Regions from separate parts of the Homo sapiens genome. Here regions 1, 2, 3, 4 and 6 are each linked to region 5. Evidence: promoter capture Hi-C in 16 types of primary human blood cells and fetal thymus (Javierre and others, 2016). All regions are on one chromosome and are shown on one strand. The core of a region is centred on a gene start or on the middle of the fragment in contact, and the rest is flanking DNA. Distances in the headings are between cores, read along the strand shown.

Evidence for each region. Contacts are between HindIII fragments. The CHiCAGO score rates a contact against its expected background, and 5 or more counts as called.
Region 1: a fragment that was not itself captured here is called in contact with the fragment with the promoter of GAB1 in region 5 in 1 of 17 cell types (neutrophils); the score reaches 7.9 in neutrophils.
Region 2: a fragment that was not itself captured here is called in contact with the fragment with the promoter of GAB1 in region 5 in 3 of 17 cell types (neutrophils, naive B cells and total B cells); the score reaches 10.1 in neutrophils.
Region 3: a contact is called between a fragment that was not itself captured here and the fragment with the promoter of GAB1 in region 5, in 3 of 17 cell types (neutrophils, monocytes and megakaryocytes). The highest score is 9.7, in neutrophils.
Region 4: a contact is called between a fragment that was not itself captured here and the fragment with the promoter of GAB1 in region 5, in 1 of 17 cell types (neutrophils). The highest score is 8.2, in neutrophils.
Region 6: a fragment that was not itself captured here is called in contact with the fragment with the promoter of GAB1 in region 5 in 1 of 17 cell types (neutrophils); the score reaches 5.8 in neutrophils.

Annotation. Positions count from the first base shown.
Region 1 is chr4:143,241,741-143,244,500 of GRCh38, forward strand. No RefSeq gene overlaps it. Among named protein-coding and RNA genes, the nearest start is that of USP38, 58 kb to the left of the region's middle. The HindIII fragment of the contact is 2,745 bases long and covers 1-2,733 here.
Region 2 is chr4:143,406,850-143,409,868 of GRCh38, forward strand. The region is part of intron 1 of GAB1 (GRB2 associated binding protein 1); the gene reads left to right. Among named protein-coding and RNA genes, the nearest start is that of MIR3139, 65 kb to the left of the region's middle. The HindIII fragment of the contact is 1,627 bases long and covers 682-2,308 here.
Region 3 is chr4:143,225,090-143,227,797 of GRCh38, forward strand. No RefSeq gene overlaps it. Among named protein-coding and RNA genes, the nearest start is that of USP38, 42 kb to the left of the region's middle. The HindIII fragment of the contact is 2,906 bases long and covers 1-2,708 here.
Region 4 is chr4:143,455,536-143,458,235 of GRCh38, forward strand. All of the region lies in intron 6 of GAB1 (GRB2 associated binding protein 1), which reads left to right. Among named protein-coding and RNA genes, the nearest start is that of SMARCA5, 57 kb to the right of the region's middle. The HindIII fragment of the contact is 7,383 bases long and covers 1-2,700 here.
Region 5 is chr4:143,335,502-143,338,285 of GRCh38, forward strand. It overlaps GAB1 (GRB2 associated binding protein 1), which reads left to right and starts at 1,375. Exons shown (of 10, transcript NM_002039.4): 1 at 1,375-1,759. The coding sequence starts at 1,688. It also overlaps the pseudogene LOC124900789. RefSeq lists enhancers at 182-391, 1,301-2,114 and silencers at 584-751, 692-991, 1,092-1,151, 1,222-1,271. The HindIII fragment of the contact is 8,165 bases long and covers 1-2,784 here.
Region 6 is chr4:143,260,082-143,262,781 of GRCh38, forward strand. No RefSeq gene overlaps it. Among named protein-coding and RNA genes, the nearest start is that of GAB1, 75 kb to the right of the region's middle. The HindIII fragment of the contact is 1,164 bases long and covers 783-1,946 here.

The DNA.
Region 1 (2,760 bases), core at 111-2,610, 94 kb before region 5:
GAGGCTTTTTCCTTTTAAGAGGCTGTAGATCAAAAAGGACCCCAGTACCAGGAGATAGGGTAAGGACCATAGAAGCAGAGGAACAGAAAAGCAAAGAAGGAAACAAAGGGACAATTTCTACAGCCTCATAAATGGGGACATACACTCAGATTGAAAAGCAACACAAGAGGAACAAAAGTAGATATTTTCTATCCTTTCATCCACCTCTAAATGCTGAATGTGTTAATAATTGGCTCTGAGGAATACTTAGCTCTTTCTGGTGATAAACTAAGTCATAAGGGAAATGGCTGTGCTTTAATCAGGAGTAGGCCAAGGCTGCTTTCTGGTGCAGCATGACTCAGCGGGTTTGGAGTGCAGGCACACAACCCCCCACATTAGGTAACCATGCCATGTGAGGTGCATTAGGTGATCACCCATGTGAGCTTGTGCTTGGCTCACAGTCACTAATGTCTGTAAAATGTATAATTACCCTGCTAACACTGTACATATAGCTCACTTGTGCCCAGAGAGAGAGTAAAGCCCTGTCAAAATTGTCTACCATTCCTCAAGTGTTTTTCCAGCTACCTGCCACTCACCTACCAACTCCCCTTGGACTTCAGTTAGAACCTGACATAAGTCTGTGCATATTTCAGCCATTATGGGCCACAAAGGAGGGTTACAAATGTCAAGATAGCTTTTGTTTGTTTTGCTTTGAATAGGTAATACATTCATAAGGTTTAAACATTTTTTAAAAAATTAAATGAAATGTCTTTCCCTTACACCCCCATGGGTAATATCTTTATTTCATTTCTTCGTTATACTTCCAGAGTAATTTTGTGCACATATTAAAACCCATTTATGCCTAGTGTTCCATTATTGGAACATTAAGCATGTGGGAGTTACTTACATCCTACTACTGAAGGTCATTGCCAAGGTCTGATTCCAAAAATTCAAAAAAATTGCAACCTCAGGAATAAATGGGTTAAGATATATATACACAGATACTCTTTTACCCTCCTTCTTTACACAAGCATTACCATAGCCTTGCACATTATTCTACTCATCTTTTCTTTTTCACTCAACAAAAACTTAGATGGTTTTCATATTAAAACAAAAAGAACTTTCTCCTTTTTTTTGTAGCTGGCTAGTTTTCTATTGTAAATGTATATTATTATTTATTTAACCAGACCACTATCATAAACGTTTAAGTAATTTATAATATTTTACGATTACAAACAATGATGCTACCTTGAATAAGCATAATTTTGCCTGTCTAAAGTGTATTCGCACTTAAATTCCTAGGAATGGAACTTCTGAGTCAAAGGGCATATATATTTGTAACAATAGCGATAAGTACTATTAAACTGCCCCCTATGAAAGCAAGAAAATGTACCTTCCCAAGTAATGTATGGTAGAGTCTGTTTCCTCCAGCCTTGCTAACACCATGTGGTATGTAACCTTTGAATTTTATTCAGTCCGACAGCTTGAAAAATAATATCTCAGTGTAGTTTCCACTTTCATTTCTCTTCTTGTGAGTGAGGATAAGCATCTGTTCATGTATTTGGGGCTCTATATTTCATGGGACTGTTTGTTCATATCCCTTGCCCATTTTTCTATTGGGTTGTTGTTCCTCTGGGTTAGAACTCTATATTAGGGGCAGAACCCTTTGCCTGTGATTTGGGTTGTGAATACTTTTCTCCATTTTTGTTTACCTTTCATGCATATTTTTATTTTATTCATGGTGTTTTTGCCATGCAGAAGTTGTTGTTGTTGTTTTGGCAAAATGTAACAATCTTTTTTTCTGGATTCTAGATTTTCTGGATTCCAGTCAAAGTTAGAAATGTCTAGGGAAGATAAAAGTTAACTGTATGCTGAAAACAGTAAGTTTTGGGGAAAATAAATATTTAAAAGACCAAGAAACACTGGTAGATTATGGAGTGTTCGAAAGCCCCGCTTTCAAGGTGTTGCCAGAATAAAAGGTTAGTGGAAAGGCCTCACTTGTTCTTGTGCTGGTTTTGGGCAGAGGTAGAAACTGCCAAAAAATTAAAGGCTAGTTTTTTTTTTAATTGATGGGTAATACACATATAGTAAATTGAATAAAGGGCACTCATCTTAAGTATCCAACTCAATAAATTTTCACATATGTATAGACCTGTGTAACTACCACACAGATAAACACAACATGAATCCCAAGTTCTTGATCACCTGACAAATGGAAGAAGAAGGGATATTTAGTTCTGTGAGTCAGAGAAATTTTTCTCCAGTGCAATGGAGTAGGGAGAGTAAAGGGAATGAAGAGTCATGGGCATCAAACCAGCACTGCTGGAGTAACCTGCAGGAGTCTGGGGAGCTCGAAGTTCCTCCCCAAATTCTCTCTCTTGTTAGAACTTATTTACAGGAAAAAGGTATTGAGAATCCAAAAAACAAGTCAGGGTGGCTGAGATGTCATCTCAGGCCTAAGTCTTTGTGGGCAAAATAAAGATAACTCTATAGGAGTGGAATGAGGTGTGGCTGCTGCATTAGAGACAATGGGCATTTGAAGATAAAATTTAGGAGAACTGACTTATAGTATTGGGCTGGCATTTAATCCTTTCTTCTTTACTCTTTTCATAATCTCCCCTCCTTATTTGGTTCAAACAAAATTTCTAGGGGGAATGAAAGTGGGGTAGAATAGGAACAAAAATAAGCCAACAAAAAGGTAAGGCACCCAGTAAACCCTCATTCACCTCCCATCTTCTATTCATATTCTTCCCAAGCTTTTTAAAAATATAATTACAAGCT
Region 2 (3,019 bases), core at 245-2,744, 71 kb after region 5:
GTGGGCACAGCCCCAACAATTGGGAATATGAGGACAGAAGTGAAATGGTACTTTCAAGTAAAAATATACTTAGCTTGCCCCACAGTGCTGTATTTAGAATTAATACAGCCATGAGGTGACATACTTTCCTGTGGAACCTAATAAATAAATTTACCTAATTGGGGTCCAAGGCAGACCAGCCTCATACCAAATTGTCTCTGTAGTAAGATGTATTAAAGTCAAGTCCTATTTTCAGGGTTCTTAACGTGTTAACAGGGGTCCTGTGAAACCTTGAAACTATACAATATTACCTATATACCTTTTTTCTAAGAAAAGTTTTCATTGCTTTAATCAGATGCTCAAAGCCGTCTATGACCCAGAAAAGGTTTAAGAACCACCTATGTATATTAAATACTAAGGGGTTTTTGTCATTGCTTTTTTTTTTTGGCTTTTTGTTTATTTTATGTAGTGCTTATGCCTAGGCTTTGAGGTAGGCATTAATTTAGCAGTAATTTCAACAAGTAAATTATATGCACTATTACTGAGAATTCAAAATTCCTGAACTCTTTCCCTAGCTAGTATAGTATTTCTGAGTCAAATTTGATTTTTTTCCTCTTATGAAATTGTTTTATTTCCAACTAATTTGTTGTATCCAGGCAATGTACGTAAACTCTAATATCTTAAGTTTATGGAACAGTTGAAAGCTTAGATCTAGGCATTGTTCTGCATTATTTTCAGTGTATTCTTTTGTTTATATTACTAAGCTAAAGTTAGCTCGGATAGCACAAGGCTAGAAAATGGTGACAACAGTTTGAAAACAGGAAATTTTAGGCTTCTGTGTGTTTGGAACAGATGATCATAATGATAGAGCCAGTGGAGTGGAAACTTCCACCGAGCCTGTTTTTTCCTTATTTTGCTCTATGAGAAAAGATGGTGCTTCCTGGAAAACAACTCAAGTATTTTAAAGCAAATGGTTTTCCTTTGTCCCTGCTTCATGGTTAATTTGTTTTTCTTTATTTTATTTACCCTAGTAATAGTATTATGGAAATATTTTTAATAGGCAAAGTAATTCCTAAAGTGCTTATTTTAGATTTTTAAATATTTCAATGTATTACCATTTACTGCATGGTTTTTAGAGAAAATTAAAGCAATATATTATAATGACTTTAAGGAAAGAAAAATAAATTTATTCCTCTATTTTAAGTGTTCCCAACTTTTCTTGTTTGTTTGTTTAACCCCCTAAGTGCCAGTCTTTAAAATAAAGTCGTGACTCTTTATCTGTCTAGGCTGTTTCCTGGCTGAGACTCCTTCCACATGTATCCCGGAATTCTATATTTAAAAGAAAGGTTAAATATCCATTCACTAATTGCAGAGTAATAATAAAATAGCATTTCCATATACACATAAACTTTTTGTTTTGTGCACATCATTCCTAGGTTATTTTAAACATACAATTTTTTAAAATTATAAAAGCAATAAATGGAAACATTTTGAAAAAACAAAGTATGTAAAATATGAGACTCATCTGGCCCTTTCATCTGACCTATTCTTAGTTATCAGAGTTAACAACTTAGTATGTGTCCTTCCAGACCTGTTCTCTAAACATAGTGTGTGTTTGTATAAACACACAGTTTGTGCTGTGTTTGTACAAACACACAGTTATTTCACACAAATGGAAGTATATACCATGTGTACAATTCCGCACCTTGTTTTTTTTACTTAACAGTTATCTTGTGGGCATTGCTCATGTATATATATCCATGTCACTTTTTGAATGAATTGCCTAGCTTTATTGTGTAGATGTCCCATAATTTATTTGACCATTATCCTGCTGATAAAATTTAGATTACAACCTATCTTATCAAAAATAGCATTTTCATTTTGTGAAACGCACATCTTCAACCCCGACATTTTACAGATTTCTGAGAGTATATTGAAATTTTGAATTCTACTAAAGAAGTCACAATAATGGTCTTTCCTTAAATATCAGTTGTGAAATACCTTTTAAGAGATTTCAAAATAAAAAATTCCGCTCTACTTTTTTCCCCACACTTTCTCAGGAAAAGAGCGGGTTAGTAAAATTACAGTGGTGGAGCTTCCTGGTAGAAGGGAAGTTGGCTCAGGAATGTAGAAAGTATTGCTCTTCAGCTATCTGGACAAGGTATACTTTGTTAGGGCTTAACAACTACCAAGAGACCCCAAGATGCAGTCAGCAGAGTTCTTTTTCAAGTGCTTAAGGGAATGGGCTTGTTAATGGACTACTTGCGTGATGTTGCTGAGAGCTCAAAGGAACAGGAGCTGATGCCTTATCTCAGGGGAAGTTGAGGAAAGCTTTAAAGAACAGGTCTTGAGCTAGGTCTTGAAGGATGAGTAGGAGCTCATGGTGAGGGAAATAAGGTATTTCAGACTGAAAAAGAAACAAGGACCATGTGGGTGCTGTCTGAGGCCATCTGTGGAGGTGAGAGATTGGAGAGATGAGACAGGTAAGTATGGTTTTGAAGAACCTTGTATGCTATCTTACTGAAGGAGTTTGGACTTCAATAACAACTTTGAACTTTCCCCCCCCCCGCTCTGAAATCTTTTCATTTAGTCTCAGTGGCTGTCTGTGATGATTATTCTGATGGACAACATCTCACCAAGGCTTTGAGCACTTACAATGCATGAAGTGCTGTTGCAGATAGAAAAAAAAAAAGGAATTAGCTTTCAAGGAGCTTAATGTCCAGTTGGGAAAATAATTCATAAGTATTTGGAGAGTTTGGAAATGTAAAATAATAGACTGTTCCAATCTATTCTACAGCAATGCAAGAGATATTACAGAGCAGTAATTGATTGTCAGTGGTAGGAAGGTAGGGTGTGGGGAGGAAAGGGGAAGGTTGGGAAAAAAGAACCTTGAAGAATGAATTGGGTTTGAAAGATATTTGCTAGTGGTAAATATTGTGAACAAAAATAGGAAGATAGAGACAGCATTGGCATGAGCAGAAGATATTAATATAAGAAGATGAAGAATGAGACGTAAGCTTGAAAGGACCTGTGTTTGTTT
Region 3 (2,708 bases), core at 184-2,683, 110 kb before region 5:
AAAATGAAATATCAGTGTGTTTCCTTTATCCTTTTGCACTCCAAACATGATTCCTTAAGAAAAAAAAAAAAAAGATCTACTTTGTTAAAACCTATATGTGATAATCTAAAGGGTTGAGAAATGTGGTTCTTAAACTCATTTGTTTTACCCGCGTAGTTTCTGTTTGCTTTACTAGGCTTATCTCTTCCATTCTTGCCTTTATGCCCTCTGTCATGCATATTGGACCTTGCATCATTTTTTTTCACACAGCACCATATACTTGCCATCTCGAGACCTTTGCACATTCAGGTCTCAGGATAGCATACCATTCCCCTTACGCTACTTTCTCTTCCCAGCTTTCAGCGGACTAATGACCTCCTACTCTTCAGTATGTTCATATCTTCTCATACTGACTTCCCAAGCTGATTAGTCTCCGCCTTTATCCTGAGGTGTGTATTGTGCTTCTCTTTGAGAAGGCCATGGCTTAGCAATGGGGCTAAATTAACACTGGAGTAAAGGCTAATCCTTTACAGTATAAAGTTTACACCCAACAAAGATTAAAAGTAGGTCTTAAAAGGATCAAATTCTAATGCTGGTTAAATTCTTTAAGTAATTTAACTGCATACAGAACAAATGGCAACCTTTTTAAGGAAATGCAGTATACATACCCAGCATTTAAGAAAGTAAAATTCACAGTATCCAGCATCTGATCAAAAAGTCTGAGGCATTCAAAGAAGGAGAAAAATCCAGAAATTATGGAAAGAAAGGAATTTGCAAAGTAGGAGCTTAAGAGGAATGTAGAAAATCATGAGCACAGTGAAGAGAAAAATGGAAGATCTGAGAGTCAGTTATCCAAGAGAAAATTAAAAGCACCCAGAGGAAAAGAATATGAGGTCAGCAAACAATACAGAGCCCACAGACCAAGTCTATCCTGCGTCCTGCTTTTTCGTAAGTAAAGTTTTATTGGAGCACTGCTATACCTGTAACCTATTGTGTATGGCTGTTTTTACACTACAATGGTAGAGCTGAGTAGTTATGACGGAGACCATATATATTAGTCTGTTTTCATGCTGCTATAAAGAACTGCCTGAGACTGGGTAATTTATAAAGAAGAGGATTAATTGACTCACAGTTCTGCATCGCTTGGGATGCCTCAGGAAACACAGTCATGGCAGAAGGGGAAGCAGGCTTGTATTACAAGGTGGCAGGCAAGAGAGAGCAGGGAAAACTGCCTTATAAAACCATCAGATCTTGTAAGAACTCACTATCCTGAGAACAGTATGAGGGAAATCATCCCCATGATCCAATCACCTCCCATCAGGTTCCTTCCTCAACACCTGGAAATTACAATCCAAGATGAGATTGATTATGGTGTAACCATATCACCATACAGCCTGCAGAGCCTAAAATATTTACTGTGGTACATTTAAAAATTCTGATCCTTGATATAGAGAAACAAAAGACCAGTCATTTTATCAGAATATGAAAGCTAGAGGATGGTGGAATGGCATCTAAAAAGTGCAGAAGGGAAAAAAAGTCAACCTAGTGAATACTCACTATATCCAGTGAAGATTCATTCAACATGAAGGGGAAATAGATATTTTTAGACAAAAGCTGAGAGAATTTTTTTCTTGAATATTTGCACTAAAAGATAGGTTAAAATTCTTCAGGCTGAAGAGAGCATACCAGGTGGAGATTTGGATCTACAAAAAGGAAGGAAGATTTGGAAATGGATTTGGCACCATTGACTCAATTTCCAGAACAAGAAAGCAGGGACAGTTTTGGGAAGCTCAAGACACACTGCCCATGAGCAGCAATTTGGACCTCCTGCTGCATCCACTGTGCATCAAACACACACTGTACAGACAAAGACTCCCAGGAAAAGAAGTATAAACATGGACTAACACAGAGATGGGCAAACTACAGCCTGTGACCCAGCCACCTGTTTATGTAGAATCCAAAGTAAGAATCTTTAACTTACACATAAACTTCTAGAATTGAGTTTAGCAAGTCTCCTAAATACAAAGTTAATATACAAAGTTCAAGGGTATATTTATACACCAGTGACAGGTATTAGAATATGAAATTTTAAAATATTGACAATAATGTAAAAAATCAATTTTTTAGAAATCTAGAAACAGCTTTTTAGAAATAAAAGATGCATAAGACTGCCACACAATACCATAAAACATTATTTAGGAAGTTAAAGAAGACCTAGATAAATTATGGCTTGGAAGACTCAATATTATAAATACCTAATTTGTCCTCAAAATAAATAGCCAACTTTTCCCAGTCTGTAGAATCAATGCAATCCCAATCTGGGAATTCTATTTTGTATTGAGCTGATTCGGAAATGTAAAGGGAAAAAGTCCAAAAATTGTCAAGACTCTTGGAAATGAGGAACAAGGTAGAATGACTTTCTTTACAAGATAAAACTTATAAAGCTAAAATAATTAAGATAAGGGGACTTATCAGAAATACGCCCATACTTACATGCATATGTGATTTATGACAAAAATAATGTGACCATCCTAGTTGTTTGAGACTGAGGCTGTTCCCAAGACATAGAAATTTCAGCTAAAACCAAGAAAGTCCCAGGCAAACTGCAATGACTTGGCCCCTAGACAAAGGTGACACTTCAGTGTGAAAAGGATGGTCTTTTCCATAAATTTTAGTGGTACAGTGGGTAATCATGTAAGATAAAAGAAAACCCTTACCGCACACTATAT
Region 4 (2,700 bases), core at 144-2,643, 120 kb after region 5:
ATCTTTCAGACAAGGAGGAGTGCATCTCACATACTAGGTCAAGAGCAGCAAACCAAAAGAAGTTCTAAGAGCATTTTGTAATTAAACCTGGTATCACTGGTGTGTCAGCTCTCTGTGGCATTCACGTAGATGTCCCCCCAAGCCACATCTGTAAATTCAGAGTAGTATCAACTATAGACATAAGTGTAGGAATGAGCACATTTCTTCCTTTCTCTACTTGGTTTCCTTAGTTTGTGACTGTGTGGCACAGAGTGCTGCAAGATCTCCAGCCGCAATGGAGAGTTCAAAACTGAACTCCAAGCAGCTCCAACATAGTATCCAGCTAAATTTCCTAAGATTCTCTATATCCCTAAAGGTCTGGAAAGGTAAGACAGTGTGGTATAGAACAGGAGTGCCACACCAGCAAGTGGCAGGCTAGAGGAAGTCTCAACTCTGCCTCCGGTTAAAGTGTAACCTGAACAAATCACTTAACCCCTTCTTTCTTTGGATGAATCTCATTCATAAAATGAAGAAACTAGATTTGTAAGGGCCTTTCACTCCAAAATAATCATATTATTTTAATACTAAGACTTACCTTCTGCCTCTTATTTTTTTTGAAGGGTAGCACACTATTTGGGGGAGTTTAAAAAGTTGTCATCGTAGCCGGGCGCGGTGGCTTACGCCTGTAATCCCAGCACTTTGGGAGGCCAAGGCGGGTGGATCACAAGGTCAGGAGATCGAGACCATCCTGGCTAACACGGTGAAACCCCACCTCTACTAAAAATACAAAAAATTAGCCAGGCGTGGTGGCGGGCACCTGTAGTCCCAGCTACTTGGGAGGCTGAGGCAGGAGAATGGCATGAGCCTGGGAGGCAGAGCTTGCGGTGAGCCAAGATTGTGCCATTGCACTCTAGCCTGGGCGACTGAGAGAGACTCCGTCTCAAAAAAAAAAAAAAAGTTGTCATCTTCCTTTGCTTTAGAAAAGGGTCCTGCGGGTATGGGCCCTGGATTAGGGAATTTTAGGGGTAGGGAGTGGATCTTGCCCAAAATTTTAGTATTTACCTTTTAAACTCAGGCTGCCTCATTTCTGAATAAACTCAATGTATTGTGTAACTTAGAAAATTGGTTAGGAAATTTTATTTTTTATAACTTCTACAGAATTATATTTTAAGAAACTTAGATTTCGATAGGTAAGGTGCTAGATATCAGCACTTAACCAGCAAATTCTGATTCTGCCACCTAATAGATGTAAACTCAACTTTGTAAATTCCAAGAAAAAAGAAAATTTAGTGCCACTAATAATGGAGTAGCTTAAATCACTGGTTCAAATGATATTGCAGCTCTGGCATCCAGGCTTCTAATGGGAAGGATGCCCTTTCATAGGCTTTTCAGCAGTGCTTTTATGTGGCAGACATTAAGTGAAAGGAAGATGATGGTAACTGAATTTATGCTTTCAGAAATATACTTAATTAAACTGAAGCTAGGCAATCAGTAGAACCAGAATCTAAACATGTAATTCTTGCAAGATGAAGCCATTGGGCAACCAGTGAGTATCCAGAGGAAAGAAATGCTGGTCTTGTTTTGGTTTTAGATTAGTAAATATAGTAGTGGCAACTTGCTTCTCTAGAAGAGTCTTGTTCAGGAGGTGCAGGAATAGATTAAGGTTTTAAAAACATCTCTACCAAATTAGAAAAGTAATATTACAAGGACGTAGGCCTTCGGGCTTTCATATGAGACACCAGATTTCAAAGAAAAGAAAGATGTAATTGAGATCTGACTAGGGTATTCTACAAATTTTTTATTTGATCCAGTTTTCTAAGACATGTTAGAAGAAAAACTAACATGGCACATATTTTCCCTCTGTTCCCCCAAATGAAGATAACAACTAACCAGGCTGGTTATCGCACTAAAATCCTGCCATCTTTTATACCTCCTTGCTGCTTACATTGTTGCATGTAAATTCCTCTTTTCCATTGTGCTGAGCATGAGCATGAATTTTATGTAACAAGACTGAAATATTCTCCACAACAAACTTTTGTTCATGCTTTTAGATGTAACATTTTTGCACAGGGCTCTGTTGCTTTTTTTTTTTTTTTTTTTTACAGAATCCATTTTCCAATTAATAAATAACATTATATTAAGAGAGTCTTCTTTTTACCAATTAGGTCAAAGTCCTAAAATTTTAAGACTCAAACCCCATGGTTTAGAGCGAACTGATTCACAAACCATAGGTGACTTTGCTACAAGAAGAAAGGGTATGTACTTTAGCACCGCATGCTGTATGGGGCATTGGGAATTTATTTTGTAATGTTTTTTGTTTTTTTTCTAAAAATAAAGAAGAACCTTAAATACTACTGCTGTTGTAAATAAAACTTTCCTGCACATTATTTCTAAAGTGAATGCTTCCCATAATACACAATGAGTCTACTTACTCTGCCATTAACAACAGCATGTTAAATATTTGATAATATGTGATATTCAGACTTGTCCTTTTGCATTATTCTTTTAACTTTGTAGACAACATTTTATCCTTTCAGTTTGTGAACTGTTTGTGATTTTCTGTTGTCTTCTGTCTTTATGTATATGTGTTCTGTTCTGAGACAGAATAAAGAATCATTTCCATGGATTAATTGTGCCATTATTTAAAAACTGACAGCTAAACTGCTATTAGCCTTTGGGTGTCAAAAAGTAAAACATTAACAGTTAAAGAAATACTTTCAC
Region 5 (2,784 bases), core at 125-2,624:
TCCCAAAGTGCTGGGATTACAGGCGTGAGCCACCGCGCCCGGCCAAGTGTCCCTCTTCTAGTCCAGCATCCGAACAGTAGATTTCAAACAAATACAAAGTTAAGTGGAATAGGCAACAAATGGAAGGGGTGTGAGACTTCAAAATGTCTCAGAGATAGGACCCAACCAAATCCTTGGCCTCGCCAAGCGCCCCCATCACTCTGGCAGAACAGCTCCAGAGACCAGCCCTGGCCAGCCCTGGGTCCCCATCTGTCCTCCCCTCCAAGCTGGTAGCTCCCGCGCCCTCTTGGTCTGTCCTTTAATCTCGCGCGGCGGGGACCGGCAGGATGGTGGTCTCCCCGCGGTTTTGCCTTTCAGGCTCTCAAGTAAAGAAAACCCTCGAAACTCCTGATCTCGAGCACAGCACAAGCTCCGAGCTGGCACCGGGCTGAGTCAAGATGGCAAGCCCCGGACTGAACATTCGAATGTCCCTCAGTCTTCCCCGCGCCCAAGCCCCGGTGCCTCTGCCCTAGCCGAGGCCTCTGCGGTCTTCCCGGGCGAGGAGCCGATTGGGGGCCGCCGGACGGCGGAGGACCCTGCTCCTGCTTCCCGAACTACAGATCCCAGGGTGCCTCTCGGACTCGCGCTCCCTCCCTCCCTTGCTCCCTCCCTTCGTCCGTCTCCTCCCCCGGCCCTTGTTGTTTTGGCTGGAAGCACTCCGGCGGAGTTTCAGAGAAAGTCTGGGCAGAAACCGGAGCCGGGCCTGAACGTGGGAAGGGGAGGAGGAGAGGGAGGAAGAAGGAGCCCGGCGGCCGGGAGAGGGAGGGAGGGATCGGGATCTGGGGCCGAGCCGCTCAGGACCTGCCGCGAGCCCCGGGGTGGGGGAGGCGGCGGGGGAGGAGCGCGAGGGGACGGGACAGCGGGATCCCTCCCAGGAGCCAAGCCGCCAAGCGCCTCGTTCCTCTGCTGCTCCCCGCCCTCTTCGGCGGCCGCGAGAGCGGACCCACCCTCCGGCTTGACCTGCGACCTCCCTGCGCCCGCCGCTCAGAAACGCCCCGCGCTTCGCTGCCAACCCTGCGGCTCCCTCTGTGACCCGGGACCAGCCCCGCGCCCGCTGCCCGTAGGCGGCTCGCGGCTTCCCCTTTCCTCGGCGTTCACCGAGCGCCGCGAAGTGACCCACCCTCCCCCGAGGAGAGGGAAGGAGGATCGCTCCGGGCGCATCGAAACCGAGGGCGGGTGGGCGGGCGAGCGGGCACCGCGCGGGGCATTGTGTGTGTGTGTGTGTGTGTGTGTGTGTGTGAGCAGCGCTGTGTCTGTTTCGGAAAGCGCTCTGGGGAGGTCTTGTCCCTAGGGGGCGGAGCGCAAAGGACAGAAGCTCCGGCACCGAGTCGGGGCAGAGTCCCGCTGAGTCCGAGCGCTGCTGAGGCAGCTGGCGAGACGGCACGTCTGGAGGCGAGGCGGGCGCACTGAAAGGAGGCCGGCGCGCCCGCGGCCCCGGCTCGCGTTCTGTTCAGGTTCGTGGGCCTGCAGAGGAGAGACTCGAACTCGTGGAACCCGCGCACCGTGGAGTCTGTCCGCCCAGTCCGTCCGGGGTGCGCGACCAGGAGAGCTAGGTTCTCGCCACTGCGCGCTCGGCAGGCGTCGGCTGTGTCGGGAGCGCGCCCGCCGCCCCTCAGCTGCCCGGCCCGGAGCCCGAGACGCGCGCACCATGAGCGGTGGTGAAGTGGTCTGCTCCGGATGGCTCCGCAAGTCCCCCCCGGAGAAAAAGTTGAAGCGTTATGTAAGTAGAGCTGCGGGCACCACTCCGCGGGCCTCGGCGTCCACACCCCTCCCCAGTCGGCTCGCCGGCGGCTGCAGCTGGCCGCGCGCGGGGCTGGTTCTTAAACGAATGCCGGTCTCTTTCCCCTTGGCCCCTACCCCTGGCGGGCTCGGGACAGGGTGCCTTGCACTCCCTCACGCCCAGGCATCCACTTGGCCGGACAACTTTCTTCCTCCAGGTTCCAGACAGCCTGCTTTGCGGGCCTGTTCGCCCCATAAAAGGACCTAGACGTCCAGCTAAACTCCTGCTGCATGCTTTTTTTCTTCCTTAGGAAGGATGGGGTGCGATGGAGAGAGGAGCCTTCTTCCTGCTTTATTCCTGCATCTGATTATTGGGCTGATGTGTGCTAAAGCTCCCGCACCGGGAAAACTGCCGAGGTTTTAGGGCTCACTAGCCCTTTCTTTGGTGGGCGCTCCCTCTCCTCCGCCCCTCGAGATGGGTTGCGGGAAGCGGGCTGTGGAGCTGAGGAGTTGGTAGTAGAGACAAGCATATCGAACGCGCGCAAAAGGGAAAGAAAGAAAAGTTATTACGCGCCCTGCCGTTTGCTTAGCAGGGTTCACATTTTCGCGGTTTTGAATTGAGGGACTTTGGAGTTTGGCCCGGGAGCCTTGGCGGTTTGCTGCGAGAGGAGGGCGCTGGGGGGGAGCCTAGTGGCTGGTGTTTGGGCGCCTTGGATGTGCTGTCAAACTCGGCAGGAGGGGACAGCTGAAGCCAGAAGGGATTTCAGTTGCGGTCCTTTCCCAGGGAACCAGAGTGGCTTTAATGGTGTTTGTGTAATTGATACAAGATGCTATGTGTTAAACCGTTTTAGCTGTTAGGAAAAATATTCCTTGAAAGTATCAACCTTGCTTTAGTGGAAACCTGTGTCCTCTTCAGAGGTCTGGGATCTTATTCTTCCTCCCCATTGGTTGTTTTGTTGCTGCTCCCTTGCAAAGGAAAGAAATGACACTTTTGTGCTGACATCTGGATCAAATATTTTTCTAGTA
Region 6 (2,700 bases), core at 115-2,614, 75 kb before region 5:
TGTGATATGTTTGTAGGGTAGCATTCTCTTTGAGGGTAAATATGAATTCCTGGGAAGCTGAAGAAGTTAAGATGTCACAGCTGGGAAAGGGGACTGCATCGGCCCTCAAAAAAATTGGAATTGTCTTGAGCCAGAGATAAACACCATGGACATCCCTGACATCTAAGCTAAATGAAATATCATCAAAAGATATTTATTGACAATATAGTTTGATCTGTGTCCCCACCCAAATCTCATGTTCAATTGTAATCCCCAATGTTGGAGGTGGGGCCTGGTGAGGGGTGATCAGATCTTGAGGGCAGTTTCTCATGAATGGTTCAACACCATCCCTCTGGGTGCTGTTATTAAGTGAGCTCTTGTGAGATGTGGTTATTTAAAAGAGTGTAGCACCTCTCCCCATCTCTCTCTTTTTCTCCTGCTCCTGCCATGTAAGATGTGCCTGCTTCCCCTTCGCCTTCCACCAGTTTCCTGAGGTCTCCCCAGAAGCTAAGCAGATGCATCATGCTTCTAGTACAGTCTGCAGCCAATTAAACCTCTTTTCTTTATAAGTCACCCCTCCTCAGATATTTCTTTATAACAGTGCAAGAATGTACTAATACAATTTAACTTCCTAACTTGTATAAAGAATTGTACCAAATCCTGTGGAGGCACAATCTGTAAGCTTTGGTCCTTGCCCCAAAAGAGACTGCAATCTGTTTGAGGAGATTCTTGGTGTAACAACACCACAGGAGTAGATGAATGCTAATTGTAAGGTACAGACAATAAATGTTTTTCCCCTAGTAAGCTTTGTTGACAGTAACAGGACAGAAACTATGTCTGGTGGAGGAAAGGCCTGGAACTGTTTAGTCCACTCAACCAGCCCTCACGTATCCAGCCATGCCACAGCTCTTTCTTAGTCACCCAACACCCTAAGGTCATGGTCTCTTCTGATGCAGGCTATTTTGGTGGTGCGGGCCAACTATAAGGGCTTACATGTTGCCTCAAGAAATTCTGTTCCCGTCAAGTAGACTTCATCTTCCTCACCTTCTCTTGCCTTTTTAAAGACATTCATTTCAACTCTTTCACCCCCACCCCATGTTCTCATTTTCAGAGTGGCTAATAAAAACTTGATTATTAGGAGCAAAGATTTTTAAAACCTTTTTTATAGCCACCAAACAAGAACACAGTATAAGATAGAGGATTCTGCTACTGGTCTGCTGTGAGATAAGTAGCAAGTTACTTTCTATGCTGAAAAATTACTTAAGGAAAAAAGAATATGATTACTCTCTTTCCCACCTTTGCAACCAGGTTCCTGATAAAGATTAGTGAAATGGTCCCCAAAAAACTTGGTAATACTTTACAAAATATTTTATGATACTGTGCAGTCCTATTACAAAAATATAACAGAGTTTAAATGGATTTGTTATATATTCTCTCTCTCTTCTTTAGAGAGTTAATAGCCTTTCAGCTAGAAAATCCAATTACTGAAATCTATGTAATTTCTCTTGGTCATTGGAGAATTCAATAACACTATAAATCTAATTTTTTAAAAAATGTTCACACCATAAATGAATTATAATCAGCAGGACTAAGATCTAATTGGAAATGCTGCTACCATCTGAGATTACTTATGAGCCAAAAACAAATTGCTTAAACCAAACCAGACTCCCAAAAGCCTTGGAGAAGTATTTGTGTTGAAAATTTGGTTAATATTTTTATTCCCAACTTAAGCACCCAGATCTGGATCCATTATTATCACACAGAAGTTCTTGTTTATAAATCATTAAATGCTATTCAGGACTTTCCACAGGAAGCAGACCCTTAGTAACAGGAAGAATTTATAAGACTTTCTTTTTTTTGGAAAAAAGAACAGAAGTCAAGAAAAGGGGAATGCACTCTAGAGAAAGAATTTCCCATATACTAGACTACATTATTCCACAGGCAGCTGAAAACCTGCTTCTTTGTAAAGCTTTCCTTGATCCCATAAATTAGCGATTAACTTCTCTGTGTTGGAGACTACCACGGCTAAAATTTTTACCCTCTTTCTAGTATTTATTTGAATGACTTACATTATTGATAGTTATTTATCCATTAATCTTCCTCATCAAAGTTATAAGTTATTTGGGAAACAACAAGTTCTTTCACATTTTTTACTCCTTCCCACCCCCACCAGTGTCTCCTTTTGTGTGTCAGGTATTGTGGTAGGGGCTGGAGAGAAGATGGATATGGATAGGAAAATCAGCGCAGTTCCGGCTGGGCGTGGTGGCTCGTGCCTGTAATCCCAGCACTTTGGGAGGCCGTGGCGGGCTGATCATGAGGTCAGGAGGCCAAGACCATCTTGGTTAACACGGTGAAACCCCGTCTCTACTAAAAACACAAGAAACTAGCCAGGTGTGGTGGCACACACCTGTAGTCCCAGCTACTCGGGGGGCTGAGGCAGGAGAATGGCATGAACCCGAGAGGTGCAGGTTGCAGTGAGCCGAGATAGTGCCACTGCACTCCAGCCTGGGCGACAGAGCAAGACACCATCTCAAAAAAAAAAAAGAAAAGAAAAGAAAAAGAAAGAAAAGAACAATTAGCACAGTTCTTTGTGTGTTTTGCTTATAGTCTAGAATGGATAAGAGATACGAGGAAATAAGCAACAACAACATGCCCTTCATCCTTGATAGGAGAACATGTGTTCAGTGAGGGTTTGTGTCAGTGGCATGCCTGCACTGAGTG